Linked DNA regions of Homo sapiens: all the other regions are linked to region 3. The links are contacts of gene promoters, found by promoter capture Hi-C in blood cells and fetal thymus (Javierre and others, 2016). All regions are on one chromosome and are shown on one strand. Each heading gives the region's core, a stretch centred on a gene start or on the middle of the fragment in contact. The rest is flanking DNA. Distances are from core to core; before and after follow the strand shown. Region 1 overlaps LOC105379137 (a long non-coding RNA gene). Region 2 holds the start of LOC105379137 (a long non-coding RNA gene). Region 3 holds the start of SEMA6A (semaphorin 6A). Region 4 overlaps COMMD10 (COMM domain containing 10).

Region 1 (4,281 bases), core at 1,257-3,756, 360 kb after region 3:
TATCAAGTGCGTGTGTGGTATGGGAATTGGCTCACAAGACAAGGTTGCACAGGGTTTATGTAGCCATGTGTTTCCATAAAGTCTACAACTGCAATATTCAGGCGGAGAGATAAGAACAGTTTTTTTTAAAGAAGAATATCTTATTATTTTGTCAAAACTCTTGGAAATCTATGAATACTAAAGCCAAATTAAATGAAACAAATACTTCTTACGTTGGTTTTATTTTTACTCTCTTATTTCAAGTGGCTTTTGAAAGCCCTTTGCTTCATTTGGAAGCATTCCTTTGGCCATGGCACATGAGAGGGGGAAGACCTATTACAAAAGGGAATAAAAATTACTTAATCTTAATTCATAAAATCTTAGATTAGAAGCAACCTTTGAGATCATCAGTCCAATCTCTTTCTGAAGATAATCATCTAGGCTCGCTTGAGCATTTCTAGTGATTAGAAACTCATTATGTTTTAGAGAGTCATTCTCTTTGGGGAAATTACTAGAAGATCTTTCTTATCTTGAGATTAAATCTGCATACCTGTTAACTTCTACATCTCAGAGCAATACAAAGAAGATGATTAATCATTTCATTTAAAAATAGTTATCTTAGGCCTCTTCAAATGTTTGAAGAAAGTTTCCATGTCCCCACCTGAGTCTCCCCCTCAACCTCTTTCCCAAGGTTAAACATATTCACTTCCTTCAACCATTTCTCAGAGAAAAAAGTTTTCAGAGTTTTATCAGACCAGTCACCTCTGCATGAAATGACAGTATCTCTCTACAAATTTCAGCTTAGTTTTGGCCAAGTAAGATCACTTTAAGGAGTTCTCAACCCTGCCCATGCATTTGAGTCGCCTGGAGAACCTTGACAAGTTTTACTTCCTTTGTAGACATTCGATTTCAGTTGATATGGGATGAGACCTGGACATTAGAATTTTCTAATGTAAAAGAAATAAAACCCCTTCTACTGAAATCACCTGAGTCCCAGGCAGGGCTTTAGAATTGAGAGCAAAGCTAGTTAATAAATGTATGACAAGGCCCAGCTGAATTTTGAGCAGGCTATCTAAACATTTCAGGAGAAGATGATATTTACCATTTACCAAGAAGCCTGGTATCAGGCTAAGTGTGAACTAATTTAAATACAAAACAATAAATAAGAGCCTGAGGCTCAGAGCAACTAAGTGACGTGACCAAGATGATATTGGCCACAACAAAGAGGCAAGGAGATTCCATACTAGGCTATAGAGACCTTGAGCCAACCTCTTTTTGGATAAACTGGTTTTCCTTCTTCCATTACTGTCTCTTCTAGAACAAGGGCCTGAAATGGAAATGGTGGCTGTTGGACCACAAGAGTCAGTTGCTCTTAGGCTGCTTCCAAGCCTAGTGTGAGAGAACACTGAGTGAGGCCCTTTGCTATCCAGATTACTGAGGCAGTCCTGGGTAAGGTGGGCCTCTCCCACTAGTGCCCTTGCCCTGCATCCTTGCCTACCAAGCATCCTGAATACAGGAGGTAAAACTAGGGGTGGAGGACAGTGCTGTTCAGAGACTGAGTGGCCTGGCTGCAAGGACATTTAGCACAGAGGAAGCCAGTAGGGTTTGGTGACAGTCCCTACCATGGCCTTCATGTTCATTCCCCTTCGATACTTCAAACCAGAGCAGCGGGCCTTTCTCCAACAAGTATGTGAGAAAAAAAAATGGGATGGACACTTGGAACTGAGTAAAGAAACAGATCAATTTGACATACTGAGCATTCATTCCCAAGATCCTTATATAGCTGAAGAACTATCTGGTACATATATATCAACCATGTTAAATACTATTCACCATGGTCTGACCATCCCACACAAACCACTTCCTCAGGGCACGTCCTTCATCCCTGGCATCCCAAACCCCGTGTGGGTTCTCGTGGAGCTTTTTTAGTAAGGGCAGTCATGAGAAAGCTTGGAGTCTCTGGAGGACCATTTTCTTTTACTTACTTTTGTCATGTTATTTTAAAAAGAAAAAAAAAGCTTTGCCTTTTTAGGTTCATCTGTGTTTGATTTTTAGGTGATTACTTTAGCCTATGAACCTGTAAGCATTCAGGGACTGGGTTAAAATCCTGCCTGTTACTTACAAATATTGACCCTGACAAGTGACAAGTAGTGATCTGTTTATGAAATACGTTTTGTTTTTAAATCTGTTGAGGAACAGACTTGAGCCAGATTAGTCTTGTATCTCACTAAAACTTTAGCCATAAGAAATATGTATTGTTTTCTTAAGAGTTTGCTCATTGACTATTTTAGTGTCGGTTCCCCTGGAAGTAGACCTTGAGTCAACAATTTGAGTGCAGAAGTTATTTGGGAGTCAAGGAACACTAGCTTGGGCAAGGGGAATTGATGTAGGGAAGGAAAGAGAAAATAACAAGTGAATTATTAGGCCACCTCTCACAGTGGGGTAGCATAATTGCATGGAGAAACTCTAGAAAGGTAGTGTAAAACAAGTCTTAGAATTATCCTGCCAAGGAGTAAAGGAGAGGGGATATTTATGCCCCCACATCCATTAGTCATTGGACAGGGACTTTCTCTGGTAGTTCTCACGTCTACTCTTTAAAGATGCAGAGGCTGGCTGGTGGAAGCCTGGTTGGGCATGCATGAAAATAATACGTGGGTGAGAAGAAATTTGAGGGAAACACATTAGACATGTTAAATGTGGTAACTAAGAGGAATAAGGGAGTTTGTTGCATCTGGAAAGAGAGATATAAGCAAAAAAAGTTATAAAAATTGTGTTTGTAATTTAAAAATTAGTGTTTTCTACAAGTCTTCAATCAATTTTTTTCTTAAGCCATTATTACCAGAACTGTACGTAATTTTCTAGAAGTATAAATTAAAATGGGTTTTGGCTCATACTCATCTCTAGAGATTTTTGAATCCTGAGTCTCTCTTCCAAAATATTTATTATTTCTCCCAAACTAATGTTAATTTAATTCAATCTATGTGTATGTACTTGATATGTAATTTCTACTCAGCACAGTGCTTGCCACTTACTAAAGAAGCTTAGAGTGAGAATCCAAGTGTTTCAGTGTCAACATATTGCAATTTAAAAATTTTAAACTAGGTATATCCAGGTGTCCAAAAGTGCACATATGACCATTGTGACAGTTAAAAGACAGCCACAAGTTCTTTGGCATTCCTCTATTGAGAGGTGGGTCTGTGTTCCCTGTCCTTTAGTTCTGGTTGGGCTCTGTGACTACTTTGATTAATAGAATGTGGCAGAAGCAATGCTGTGCCAGTTTGCAGGTCCTAACCATATGGTGCAGTGCCAGCGGCTTCTACTTCCCATATCTGGAAATACTTATATTTGCAGTGTTTCCTCTGGGTAATCCACTGCCAGGATGTGAAACTCCAAAGCCACCTGATGAAGCCTTGTGTAGGTGCCCCTATCAGTAGCCACAGCTGAACTCCCAACAGATAGCCAGAATCAACTGCCAGCCATAATAACAGTCCATTTTGGGTACTGAGCCCAGTCAAGAGTTTCCATGACTGCTTTGCCAGCTAATATCTAACTATAACCTCATGGGACACCCTGCATGAGCCTAGTCGACTGACAGAACCATGAGAAATAATAAAAGCAATTTAGTTTTAAGGTACTGAATTTTTCATTGAGGGGTGGGGTTAGTGGGGGGAATTGTTACACTGTAATAAATAAGTGGAACATCTATGTGGGTTTTAGGGATGGTTTCTTAGAGTTGTAAGAAGGTCACTTATATAAGACCTTCTTATTGTACACAAGATGTTCACTTATTTTGAGTTAGAGGATGAGTATGAGTTATCCATAAAACAAAGTTAAAGAAAATGATAAGAGCAAAAAGAGCCTAGTACGTTCGGGAAAATGCAAGCAATTTAGCTTTACTGAGACTAAAATGATAATAAGGAAAGCTAGAAAATTGGGTCCATTGTTCAAAGAGGTTTCTATGTACTATGTTGAGGATCTGGTGCTCAGTCTTCTAAGTGGTTCTAATTGTTCTCAGAAAGCTAACAGTCTGAAGTCTTCAACTAATTGGATAATAATGAACTGAGGGGTTCATCCAAGTTGTCTCCAAATATGTTAATCGGCTTTGATCAGGCTCATTCATTCATTCGTTCAAAGATTTATTGAGCTCTTACTGGGTGCTAGGTGTTAAAGGGATCAGAAAACCAATAAGTCATAGTTCCGTTCCCTCAAATGCTTAGAGTGTCTTTGATATTCAGATGTATAGGAAAAAGTTAAAAAAGACACAGAGTCAAAGATGATACATGGAAAATTACACCTTCTGAA
Region 2 (4,155 bases), core at 1,637-4,136, 380 kb after region 3:
AAAATACAAAAATTAGCTGGGCGTGGTGGCAGGCACCTGTAGTCCCAGCTACTCAGGAGGGTGAGGCGGGAGAATTGCTTGAACCCGGGAGGAGGAGGTTGCAGTGAGCCAAGATGGCACCGTGGCACTCCAGCCTGGGCAACAAGAGTGAAACTCTGTCTTAAAAAATAAAAATGAATAAAAATAAAAAATAAAGTTTCTGAATTGATTGTAATTAAAGCATTGATTTTCTTCTTGGGTCAACAATCATTTAAAATAATAGTTTTGAGAGATTTCTGTTTTGTTTTGTCCTAATTTTCAAATTCATTTACTATTTTTATTAAGAAATATGATCTATTTTTACTACTGAGCATTTATTGAGGTATTTTGTAATACCTCAAGATCAATGGAAAGAATCTTTATTCTCTGTTTGAATAGTACAAAGCATCATATATACTGACAGTAACGAATGAGAAATTATAAAATTTAACTTTCTTATGCTCTAAAGCTAAGGAAAAGACTTTTAAATGCTGATAGCTGAACGAGCAATTAAGTTTGGCTGAAGTGAGGCTGAACGAGCAATTAAGTTTGGCTGAGGTGGAAAACTATTTTAAAAATAAAGGCTTCATAGATGAGATTTGGGTATGAAGAAAGCTTAAACTTGTAAACAAAATAGGAAAAGATGAAAAAGGGCAAAAACAATATTAACATGTTTTTGTTTTGTTTTTTCCCCAAAGGATATAATGAGCTTTTCTCTACATAAATGAATCTTTTTGTCAGCTTAGGAAAAATTTCTTCTATTATATATGTCAGTATTGTTTTTTGTTCCACTTGTTCCATTATGTTCTTTGAGAACCCAAATTGTTTATGTTTAATTTTGTTTCTCTTTTCTATCTATAAACTTCGTCATTGTTTTCTTCTGAATTTTGGGAAACCTCCTTGAGATTTTCCTCTCTATCGCTCATTAGATTTTTCACATAGTCTTTCCCTTTGTTGACTCCAAAATGAATTTTATTGTTTTTATTTTAAGCCATTAATTCCCTAGTAAGTTATGCTCTTTTTTTTTTATCTATTGTATCTCTTACAAGTTCCTCCTCAGCTTTATTATTATGATTATTTTTGCATTATGCTGAGCATGCAATTTCCTGGAACTTTCTTCTCCATACTAGAGATCATTTTTCAAAGGCATCTTTTTCCTCTGAATTTTCAGAATGTTATTTTTGCTCTCTTGGTCTCTACTATTTTTGAGTGGGCCCAGTACTTTATTTTGTACCTTTTTATCTACACTTAAATAAAATATAGATTTGAGTATAGGTTACTCCAGTCCTGTTTATGACGTTCTCCTAAATCTATCCTATTGGACCTAAATCTGGTCCAATCTCTACACCCTCTTGGGGAACCTGTATACCACAAAAGGTATAACCTCTACAGCTGCTACTACCCACCCCACAATTGAGTATATACAGTAGTAACTCTTTTCACTAGTCTCAACACAACCAATCTGTACCTTAATTTCTTCTCTAAAACATACACAGTATTTCTCATGCTACTCTGAATGTTCATGGATAACAGGCCACTCCCTAGTATGTCTGTATAATTCTGATTATACTTACCAGTAATCACTTTGCTTGTTTCCCAAATTTGTTAATTCCAGTTGGCTGTTTTAAGAATTATATGATTTAATTGCATATTATGTAAATGGATGAATACATTTAGAATTAAGGAAATATCATCTGTGAAATACATATTTGGAAAAGTAATTTGCTAATAAATAATGCTGTCAAAATAGATGTCAGCAAGAAAATGGTGAAAGATTTAAATATGTAAAAATCTGTAAAGATTTTATACTTACATTGTTCCACAGAATATTGAGTTTTCAATTTTTTTAAAGAACTAAAATTTGGGATTATAGATAATGCATTACTCCAAGAAGACGGTAGGAAACTAATCAGTGGACTCATTATCAAACAAAAGGCTTTAACGAAATATTTGTGAATTACTTTGTTTTACATATTTAAGTTGAAATACTTAGAATATATGTTTCACTTTTCTGGTTTCCTGCTTTAACCAAGGAACAGACCAGAGTTTAGCAAATGCATGAGTTCTGCAAATAATAGTTGTTTCTTGTCTAGAATCTTTTGCTTCTTTTCTTTGTGTAGCACTTTACTTGTGGGGGTACACTTTTAAGATTGCAAATCACCGTCACCAATATGCCACTCTATTCTCTAACCTTTGTTTTCTGGGAGCAACTAAATTTTAATAAATATCATTTGACATGTAAAAAAAGTTTAAATTCAAAATAATAAATACATATGCATGTGTATGCACACTCACACACACATTCACACACACATACACACACACACACACACATGCATGAAGAGTTCTTGTAAACATTATTTTACCCAGCTCTATTTTTGTAAGGAAAAATGAAAGATATGACCCAGATTTCCTTGGGGAGAAAAGTTTTGGAATTAAACTACACAGGATATGCAAAATAAATGAACTCAAACAAACTGCAATGCAGTGGGAGTTCTTCTTTCATGCTGTAAACTCATTTGTCAAAATAATAGTTGCTATATCTACATGGATGACCTATATGGCCTCTCATTAACTTGGTTTGATTAGACAGCTAAACTATTTAGTAGAGTCTGAAGAAGATTCTCAATATAATTGGGAGCCCAAAGTGGATAAACCAACACTAAACAGTAAGAATCTAAATTCATTATTCAAGTAATTTTTGATGCACAAAACCACAGAAGAAATCAGGATTATCTCTGAGCATCTTTGTGCTGTGATAACAACCACTTATCTGTGTACGCAGATAAATCGCTAGAACATCGGATAGTGCAACGTATTTAATAATAATGTGGAAGAAGTTGCTCATAAGAGCTGATTATATCTGTTGATTTTCCTAGTTATTTGTGGAACACACTTAATAAGTGTTTATTGTTAAAGAACAATAGGAATAAAATCAATCATATATGTATGCTTTCAAATACTTATCTGTTCTAATTATTGGAGCCAATTTGAATTGCATCTTCTCTTTGGCAAATGACAGTTGAATTCATTGTAGAGGATACTCACATCTTTGACTCGTTAAAAATGATGACAATGGGCTGTTTTCAGTTTGTCTCTGTTGGTTGCCATAGTTTCCTAGGATACAATGACTCCCAGTTTCCATGGGCACACCACTGGCTAGGGCTGAAATGTTCTCTGTCATGGTGCAAGGGCAAATCTGGGAGCATCCTCTGTTTAAAACTGCATTTTTGAAAATTTCAAGATGGAGGCATTAATGAAAATAAAATAACAGCAAGGACTCCTTTTGTACAAACAAGGTACAATAATAAAGAAATGGTGATGGTAGGCAAATAGCCATAACAATGAAATTCATCAAGAAGGCAGATGGAAAGGGAAAGGGATAAAGAAGGAAGGGGGACACAGAGAAGGAGAGTCCGGAGCTTAGGGAAGAAACCACAGATGCTGTTTCAATTATTTGTATCACATGAGTGAAACAGAAATTTTCAAAAATGGCCTAGTTAGGGGCCATTTATTTAACAATAAAAGTACTTACTTTATTCTTTCATTTTATATTGACTCTAGCTTTTGGCACCTTTTTACCTCTTCGTTTGTGTGTGGCTCAATTAAAAGTAAACCAGCTCTTAGCTGAAGAACTCCTAATCCTGAAAGCTGTTTCCTTCAGTGTTAAATCAAGCCCCTGGTCTTTTCTACAAATTCTCATGCTCACATTTTTTGTTTTATGTATGGATTTCCTTTGCCTCTTCTTGCCCACTGTTCTCCAAGTTTTGTATGCCTTTCCTTTTTTTGTTTGTTTTCTGTGCTCTACAACCTACTTTCTCATAATCTTCATCTCAGCTGTTTTTTTTTTTTTTAAACATTACTGCTTTGTCAATGTGTTAGGTTCCCAGTGTATAGTTTTATGCTTTTTTGGGTCCTCTTTGCTGCCTGATAATAAGCTGCTGAGATAATTTACTAAGCTGTTTTTGCTTTTTTGGGAGGCTATTTAATGTGTATATTGCTTGCTGCCACTGAAGTTCATTAAGAAATACCTAGTTTATTCATTATTTGCATTCATTTATATCGCTTCATTGTAGGGGAGGAGATATATCTTTTCTGAACCCATCCAGATTTATGAATGGGTCCCTACAACAAAAG
Region 3 (4,368 bases), core at 1,797-4,296:
TACTGTAAATCATAAAACTGCTCCATGTAGACTAAACACAGCATTAAAAAGTCATACAAAATTCTTGCAATCTTGACCGCTGGTAGCCATTTGGGTACGGTATAAAAAAGTGTAGAGTATTTTTAGTCAGAATTAAACATAGGCATCTTTACTTTGGGGAGAAAACATAATTAAATAATTAATTAAACCACCAGTCCTCCCCGCCATCACTGTAGCATACCACAGACTTGATGCCCAAGATGTGTCCACCAGGGGAAGGACGACGAACAATTTCAGGACTAAAGAAAGACAAGGCAAAGGCACTCGACCTTCCCATCCTGGCAAGACTTAAAAACCAGCGCTGGGGGGCATTAAATAGCTTTTCTGAGACCTGCTGGCACAACACTGCAAGTGGGTTAAACGGCTTTTCAGATCTGAGGTAAAGAAAGTTGTGCGTACAAGGGCGAGTGTGTGCGTGTGTGTGTCCATGCACGCCTGTGTTTTAAACCTTTCACAGATCGCATTCAGTAGCGTAAAAAAGCTGAGCGTAAAAAAAGGAGCGATCCCACTGTGGCTGTGCCTGGCCACCGCAGTTCCAAAGCAGCCACCTTTCTCCCAAAGACCGACGCGAAAAAGCCTGCAGGGCTCCCCAGTGCGATACAGGCCGGAGACTCCCTGGAAGTGCTTGCCCCGGCTGTGAAGACAGCGCCTCCAGTCTCCCATTCCTCTCCCGCTCCACGCACACCTGGCTCTGCTTCCTCCCTCCCTGGATAGCCACGCTGGGAAATCGTGCGCAGGGAGCAGATGGCTCGGGATTCTGCACCTGAAGCTGCCTACTTGCAAGCCACTGAGCCCCGGCCTGTGTCCACACGCACCTTCCCCACAGCCTCTGTCCACAGTGGCCGCACCTGCCTCCGGGGTCCTGCTTCCCCATTCATCCCTTCCCCGACTTGTCGAGCAAGTACCGCGGGCCAGGAGGTTCCACTCTCCAAAGGGCCGGGATCTAGCTCCTAGCTGCATCCCGAGCTGTCCGCATGATTCCCTCCAGGTCCGGCTTCCCTCAGACTGCACATGCTGAGCCCCAGTCCGGTCGTGCCTGCCGCCCCTGGCTTTCAGGGAAACTTTCCAGGAGCGCCTGGTCTAGTGACCCCGCCGCTGTAAAGTGGGAGGAGGCGCTGGGCGGAGGGGCGGCGAGGGAGCGGGAAAAACAGCGGAATTCTGTTTCCTTTCCCGACGTCCACAAGCCCGGGACCGCTCCCTGGCTCCCCCCGTGCCGCTCGGGTCTTGCGAGGAGGGAGGAGACCTCAGGATCCTGTTTTGCACCATCTCCCACAGCGAGGAGCTGAGCAAAACGCGGAGAATCGGGACAAGAGACACTTCCCGCCCCAGAAGGATCAGGCAGGGTGGGTGGGCACTGCCCGGCTTACTCTCCAGCGCCCCATTGCCCCCATGGTAGCGCCCTAGGACACAGTGAGGAGTCGGAACAGAGCCCTAGTCTGGGTTTCAAACCCAGGGCCATCTTCTGCCAGGTCTCTCACCCTTCCCCCTCCTGGGTCATCTTTCCAGAGCGAGACCGCGCTGATCTGGGAGGAGGGCGTACCGTGCGCCAGCCCGGTGCAAAGGGCTCGGTGCTTCAGGAGGGACGCAGCCGCGACGGGCTATATCCTTGCCGCTCGGGTTGGGAGCTGCGGCGGGGGACAGGACCCATGGCGGGGGCGCCGCGTCACCCGAACGGCTGCTCCCGGACACTTATTCGAGCAAACAAAGCCCGGAACCTCTGGTGGCAGCGGCCACAGGAGCCAGGATCTCACCGAGAGACAGGGCGCGCGGGTGCCTAGAGCCATTACAAGTTTCTTGCACTCCACGGAGCCCAGCCCAGACCCCACACTGACAACAAAAGATTCTCTCCGCTTCCACACCGTCTCCGCGGAACCCCTTCTCCCACCTGGCACTGGACGAAAACAGCGCTGTTATACCCAACCCCCTCCAGCCCTCGAGGGCAGAACCCCTTCCCCTGCCTTCGACACACCGGGCCAGGGAGCTTCCGAGAATCCCACCATTTAGGGCCCGCTCTGCTCCCTGCTGGGCACGCGGGAGGATGAGCCTTGGGTCTCGCACACACACCCCCAGGAGGAACAGCCATACGCGCCGTCGCGGCCCGGGGCGGCGCCGGGCGTGTGCGCAACGCGGGTGGGAAAGCTCTCGACGTGGAGCCGGACGCACTCTGGGGCGCAGGGCAGAGAGGAAAGGCAGGCAGGGCTCACGGCTGCTCCCCCAGGACCGGGCAAGGCTCGGGAAACAGAGACACAAGACAAAATAAAACGCAGGCACCACAAAGCCGACAGCACGCGCTAGCCACGGCCCCGGGACCCTCAGGCTGGAGTCCAGCTGCCCGGGAGGTGGGGCGCGCCCGGGCGCCCGGGGCGTACCTTTTCGGTGCATCGACGGACAGGCGGCCGGGGCTCGGAGCGAACTGGTACAGCGTGTATCCCATTTAGTAATCCATTATCGAGGGGATCTCTCCGGGCCGCGGGCTGCGCTCTCTCCTTCGCAAGCCTTTGTCATTCCTACATGTGTGCTTGTCTCTTTGGGGGAAATAGTCGCGGCGACTACTTTCTGGGATGCAAACGCGATGTGTTCATCTCCAATGACGAGCGGAGAAGGGGAGAGGAAAAAAGAAGCCAAAAAAAAAAAGAAGAAAAAGAAAAAGAAAACCAACAAGGAAGAGGGTAAATGTTCAAGAAACTCTTCTCCAAATCCAAATTCCACTTGGATTCCACTTCGGTGAGTCCCCTTGGTGGTGTCTGCGCCGATTAACAAGTCATTTCAGGGCGGGGGGCGGGGTGGGGGCTGGGGCAGGGGTGCAAGGCTCTGGCCCGGCTCTGCGGCCGGCAGCGCGGTGCCGCGGGTGTGGTGATGCTGGCCGCTGCTACACGCTGCTAAGCGGGCATCGCGGGCGACCGGCACCGCGGAGGAGCGCCGCTGCTGGGTTCCGAGCGCCTGGGCAGCCGAGTGCGCGGGGAGCGGAGTTGGCTGCAGCCTCACCCCGTGCCGCTCACTACTCCTCTGTCACCGGAGAGGCCGCCGCTCCCGGGCGGAGCCAAGTCCCGGACTGGATTGCGCAGATCGGACTCTCCTTCCGCAACTCCGCCTACTTTGGCTGGCGTCTCCTCCGACCCAAAGGAGAGCTGTGGTGTATGTGAGTGCGAGTGAGCGAGGCAGAGGCGGAGAAACTACGCGGTGTGGCTGCAGGTGGAGCCTTGGACCAACTGGCCAGCGCCGCTTCCTTCCACCAGGATTCCTGGCCCCACCGCGCGCTAGGCGGAGGCTCAGCGGGGGCGACTCTGGCTGGAGCCCAGCCCTCACCTCCCCCACCCCCACATCTGCTCTAGCTAGGAAAAAAAAAAAGAAAAAAAAAATCCCGGACAGCATTGCTGAGTCCTGCCAAATCAGAAAAATAAATAAAAATAGACGTAGTGCAGGAGCGAGTTACAAGAAAGGTTTTGTTCATCGATTTTCTTAAATGGAAAAGTTTTAAAGGATGAGGGTAAGTGAACGGCGAGCTTTTCTGATTCTGATTACTGTTATCAAGAGGTAGATTCCAGAAGCGATGGACGCTCTACGTAGTTAGATGAATTGGATAGAAGCCGGTGCGGTTAAAAATACACTTGGAAGATAAGAACACAGCTATTAATTACGCACATACACACGTTAATAAAGCATGTGAAGTAAGCAAATAAACTACAGTGCAGAGAATGGCGTTTTTAACGACGGCGATCTATTTTAAAACTTAATGAAGTTCACATTTTGTGGACTGGTCTTAGAAATAAGTAAACTTCAGAAATAACACGCATACAATTCCAGTGAGAACCCAAAAGGTTTATGGAAGAAGAAAATCGCAACCACTTCCAAGGCGCTATTGTTATGATCACATGAAGAATGGCAGGCACAGCCTTCTTTCACCACTTGAACTTTCAATAGCTACAAAGTCTTGCAGTTACAGGCTTGTGCCAACTCGTCGGGCCACACCACGTTCCCCTCCCCCTGCCGCTGCGCCCCGAAATCAACTGCGCGCCGCGGCTCTTGCTCCCCAAGGGGGCTTCGCAGATGGTACGGATCCTAGTCGCAACCTTTAAACAAAGTAACATCGGGCGGCCCAGCAGTTCTCGGAGAGATATTTACTAGTCATGGAGTTGGCTGAGAAAAGCAAGTGCGGAGATCGGGGTCTCAGTCCCACTTAGGCCGAGTTTCTTTATATTGGAAACTGTACCTGTTCCCTAATTGGGACTAAGACCACTAATAAGTCCACGTTCCCTCTTTGGTCGCTTCTCTAAGTACAGACATCTGCTTAAGAGGCTTCACGAAGAATAAATGCACATGGGTCAACAC
Region 4 (4,290 bases), core at 23-2,522, 440 kb before region 3:
AGCCACGGTCACATAGCTGGTGATAGTTTAAGCATGAACCAAATCATAAACTTCAAATATAGGGTTCTTTTTAATTTGTCTGCATCATCTCTATGCAGTGCCTAAGCATACATTAGTTAATATCAAGGCCTGATCACAGTGGGGTGTGAGTTTTAATTTATTCACTTGATATCTCTCTTCATTAGTTATGTTAAGTGCCTAATGGAGAGGGATAGGATCAATTAAATAAGGTAAATGCAACATTTTACAGGTCTATATAAATACCTAGAAAGTGCTTTTCAATTAAGACGGCATGTATGCCAGTGCTTTTTTATATATGAGAATGGTTATGACATTTATTCCTATTTTATTGGAGAGTCTATTGCATGGGACTTGATAATAGTGGCAGGCTGGTATCAGAGACTATGCTTGCTGTAATCAGTGTTAAAGATCAGTATGTAAAGAATCCTTACTTAACATGTACCATGAAATTGATTTTTTATTAGTTATTATAGAGATATTATAGATTATATCTCTACAACATCTTCCTTCTTTTTACCCATAACCTCTAAAAGGCTTAGTGCCAGAAGGAACAGAACTGTATCTTTATTTTCTCATCACATCCTCTCTCAAATAGATAATACTTCCATTGCTGTCTTTCCAACTTGGCTTTGAGTCACTGCTGTGATTCTAGCTGTTGAACAGTCTTTCAAATTAAGTGATTAGTATTCTAGTCAAGGAAAAATTGTGAGCCTGCCATTCTTACCCAGTATTGCTAAGGTAGTTTTACTAAATCTATTATTAGGGTCATGTTCTCAGAGGCATATGACAATTGCATTTCACAAAACTTCCCTAAATATTGATACTTGAGATTTACAGGAAATTAAATCTAAAACCTTACACTTCTGAAGCTGGAGGCACCATAGAGCTGTGAAGTTCAGTATAAAGTCACATCTGTGCTCAATACTTTATAAGAAAAGTTACTCTGCCTTAGTCTTCCTTTACTATTTTTGTCTTACTTGATTAAAATTTTGCTGTTGTATTAACTAATAAATTCAAAGGAAATGTTCTGATTAGTTTCTGTCATAACTGGGAACGATAGTAAGAGTACCTTGGAAAGTATGATAGTCTGTTGCGTAACACTTGCTGGGTAGTAGATATCAATTCTCTGCCTGTTTCAATCTCATTGTGTCTAAAGGTGTGAACCTCTTACCATCTGGATACTTTAGTTTCCCTCTAAATTAAAAAGAAAAAAAGCAAATCTTACCTGTATAGTACCTACGCAAAGATTTTGGAAGATAGTGGGAAGTCATTAAAGTGCTTTTCACCAATTTATGCAATTTACTAGTTGAAATTTGTAACTATTTAAAAATCATTAGTTTTAAAAAATACTATTTTAAAATAGTAATTTACTATTTAATATTTAAAAACCATTGGCTCTTTTAATATATTTCATTGCTTGGTATTAGAATTTTTTATTTTTAGAATAGAGTATATTTAAAGATGACTTTTGCTGTTAAATTTGACAGGCGTGGCAGGAGGCCAATCTAATAAGCCCAAAGGGAGAATTCGCAGAGTATGCAGGTTAAAAGAGCCCTGGAACTGACTTTCTGTGAAGCCTAGGCTATCCATATACATTCCTGCTGAGTGGAGATTTGCTTAAAGTTGACTGTTTTCTTCCTTCTGTACCATCTGATTCCAATCTGCACCTGTCTTTTATAGCTAGAGACCGTTGGATGGCAGCTTAACCTTCAGATGGCTCACTCTGCTCAAGCAAAACTAAAATCTCCTCAAGCTGTGTTACAACTCGGAGTGAACAATGAAGATTCAAAGGTAAGAAATGGTATCCCATTAAAAGGATGTATTTTGTTTGTTAGGACTTAAACTTTTTATTCTTAGCAGTCTTTGCTCTCTGGATTTAGAATTTAAACATAATTCAGTTAAACAGTTATTAATAAGTGGATCTTTTTTGACAGAAATAGCTTATCTTGCAAGGTGCCTTTCTTACAAAAACATTTCATAATGTCTTCTTTTAAATTCTGCAGTGAAAAAAAATTGTTGAAGACCATATAAAATTATGATTTTAATGTTTTAGGTATTTGCAGATATTCCTGAGTGTTTCATGTTTTAAGCTGAATATATGTGGTAGAGAGAATATTGTTTGTTGTCCAGCTAGAGCCTGGAACAATAAATATGATGGTGACCTGAATTGTGTTTTTGTGTGTGTAGTAGTATAGTATGCCTGCATGTGTTTAAATCCCAGCTTTTGAGAAATACAATTTATTTATTTTTTTTGAGACGGTGTCTTGCTGTCGCCCAGGTTGGAGTGCAGTGGCGCGATCTCGGCTCACTGCAGGCTCCGCCCCCTGGGGTTCACGCCATTCTCCTGCCTCAGCCTCCCGAGTAGCTGGGACTACAGGCGCCTGCCACCTTGTCCGGCTAATTTTTTGTATTTTTAGTAGAGATGGGGTTTCACCGTGTTAGCCAGGATGGTCTCGATCCCCTGACCTTGTGATCCACCCCCCTCAGCCTCCCAAAGTGCTGGGATTACAGGCGTGAGCCACCGCGCCCGGCCTACAATTTTTTTTATACCACAGGATTTTACTTTATTATTAATTTCAGAACAACTTGAACGTGATTATTAAAGATCAAAGCATTGCTATGAAATACTTTTTGTTACTGCGGCATATAGGGAAATATATCTTTCAGATATGATAAGAGCTTTTTATCATATTTTATACTGTAATGGATTATCTTTTAAGGTAGAAAAGGGGGAGTGACTTTTTCCTCCTAAGTAGATAAGACTATCTCATCTTAAGACAAAATAGAATTGAGAATGAGGTATTAGAGAAGATCTGAGGCAGGAGATTACAGTGACTGAATGATAATAGAATAATGGAAGAAATGTTATTATTTATAACAGGAATTGAAGGATGGGAATATTATTACTTTTTTGTTAAAACTTTCGCTATTCATTCTATTATGCAGGTTTCTGGCTTCTTTAAGAAGTATCTAGCCCAGATTATATGACTATAAAATTCTGTGGAATTGACTTGAGTCTTACATATAATGTATTAGTTTATTACAGTGTTTCAAAAGTATCATTTTATTTCACACATTTTCACTGGAACGTAATATGAACTTAGTGGTTAGAGTCAAGCTATTAGAGTATGTCTGGTGGTTTCCCTTTATGTGCAGTTTCACTTTCCATAGTTTCAGTTACCCGCGGTCAACTGCCGTTTGAAATAGGTGAGTACAGTACAGTAAGATGAGAGAAAGAGACCACGTCCACATAACTTTATTACACTATGTTGTTGTAGTTGTTCTATTTTATTATTATTGTTGTTAATCTCTTACAGTGCCTAATTTATAAATTAAACTTTATCATAGGTTTGTATATATGGGAAAAAACAGTATATATTGGGTTTAGTACTATCCATGGTTTCAGGCCTCCACTGGGAGTTTTGGAATGCATCCCCCCACAGTGGGCAGGGGGACTACTGTGTGCTCTGCAGTTTAGTGTAGTGTAACCTCAGGCAAATTACTTAATCTTTGATTCTCAGTTTCTTTATCTGTAAAATATAGGTAATAGTATCTATCTACACAATTTTTATGAAGACTAAATACCTAGTATATGTAAAGTGTTTAGTCCAGTGCCCAGTATTACAGCGTGTGCTCAATAAATGCTGGCTACTACCATCATCATCAATAAAACTTTTTTGTTTTTGGCTAAAATAAAGAAATCAATCCATTTGTTTTAATTCAGAGCTCTCACTAAATTTATTTCCTGATGAAGTTATTACCTCTTCCCTTGTTCCTTGCATTCCCTCTCCCTTTTTTCTTGATTATATTTTTCACATGTATCCTTACTGGAAATTAGGAGGGGAAAAAGAGCCTGAAAAGTCCCTTTTGTTTCTTCTGTGAACTGAGTAAGTTATTCCTTTAGGTGTAGGATGATGATCTGGAACTCACTAGCATAGACTGGAGCTATTCCATGAGTGAAAATACATACATACATGCACATTCCAAGTAGCTATATACTTCCTTTGTTTTATTTTTCGTGACTACCTAATGTTAAGTCTGCGTAGCTAAAAGCATTTTGTATGTTGGAAGTGTACTATTTTGACCACATACATTGGATATGCTTTAAGCATCATGAGTTCAGCAATGCTTGTCTTTGGGATTCTCAAGTCCTTCTAGCTTCTTTGTTACATCTTCAAAGTATGCCTATGTGTCTGTTATATTTTTAGGCAGTAGGAATAAAAGAGTAATGCTTCTAGTAAGACAGCCATGTTAATAAGACATTCAGAT

Evidence for each region. The method cuts DNA at HindIII sites, captures the fragments that hold promoters and counts their contacts. A CHiCAGO score of 5 or more calls a contact.
Region 1: a fragment that was not itself captured here is called in contact with the fragment with the promoter of SEMA6A in region 3 in 1 of 17 cell types (megakaryocytes); the score reaches 6.2 in megakaryocytes.
Region 2: a fragment that was not itself captured here is called in contact with the fragment with the promoter of SEMA6A in region 3 in 2 of 17 cell types (megakaryocytes and erythroblasts); the score reaches 7.1 in megakaryocytes.
Region 4: a contact is called between a fragment that was not itself captured here and the fragment with the promoter of SEMA6A in region 3, in 5 of 17 cell types (neutrophils, megakaryocytes, endothelial precursors and 2 more). The highest score is 8.0, in neutrophils.

Annotation. Positions count from the first base shown.
Region 1 is chr5:116,932,500-116,936,780 of GRCh38, forward strand. All of the region lies in intron 1 of LOC105379137 (a long non-coding RNA gene), which reads right to left. Among named protein-coding and RNA genes, the nearest start is that of LINC02214, 170 kb to the left of the region's middle. The HindIII fragment of the contact is 1,022 bases long and covers 1,996-3,017 here.
Region 2 is chr5:116,950,310-116,954,464 of GRCh38, forward strand. It overlaps LOC105379137 (a long non-coding RNA gene), which reads right to left and starts at 3,118. Exons shown (of 3, transcript XR_948694.3): 1 at 3,067-3,118. The HindIII fragment of the contact is 4,510 bases long and covers 632-4,155 here.
Region 3 is chr5:116,571,777-116,576,144 of GRCh38, forward strand. It overlaps SEMA6A (semaphorin 6A), which reads right to left and starts at 3,047. Exons shown (of 19, transcript NM_020796.5): 1 at 2,409-3,047. SEMA6A-AS2 (SEMA6A antisense RNA 2) reads left to right here and starts at 2,642. Exons shown (of 3, transcript NR_147170.1): 1 at 2,642-2,763. RefSeq lists an enhancer at 324-1,105 and a silencer at 2,803-2,882. The HindIII fragment of the contact is 8,307 bases long and covers 1-4,368 here.
Region 4 is chr5:116,132,367-116,136,656 of GRCh38, forward strand. COMMD10 (COMM domain containing 10) reads left to right here. Exons shown (of 7, transcript NM_016144.4): 5 at 1,702-1,812. Among named protein-coding and RNA genes, the nearest start is that of COMMD10, 49 kb to the left of the region's middle. RefSeq lists a silencer at 3,239-3,288. The HindIII fragment of the contact is 7,435 bases long and covers 1-4,290 here.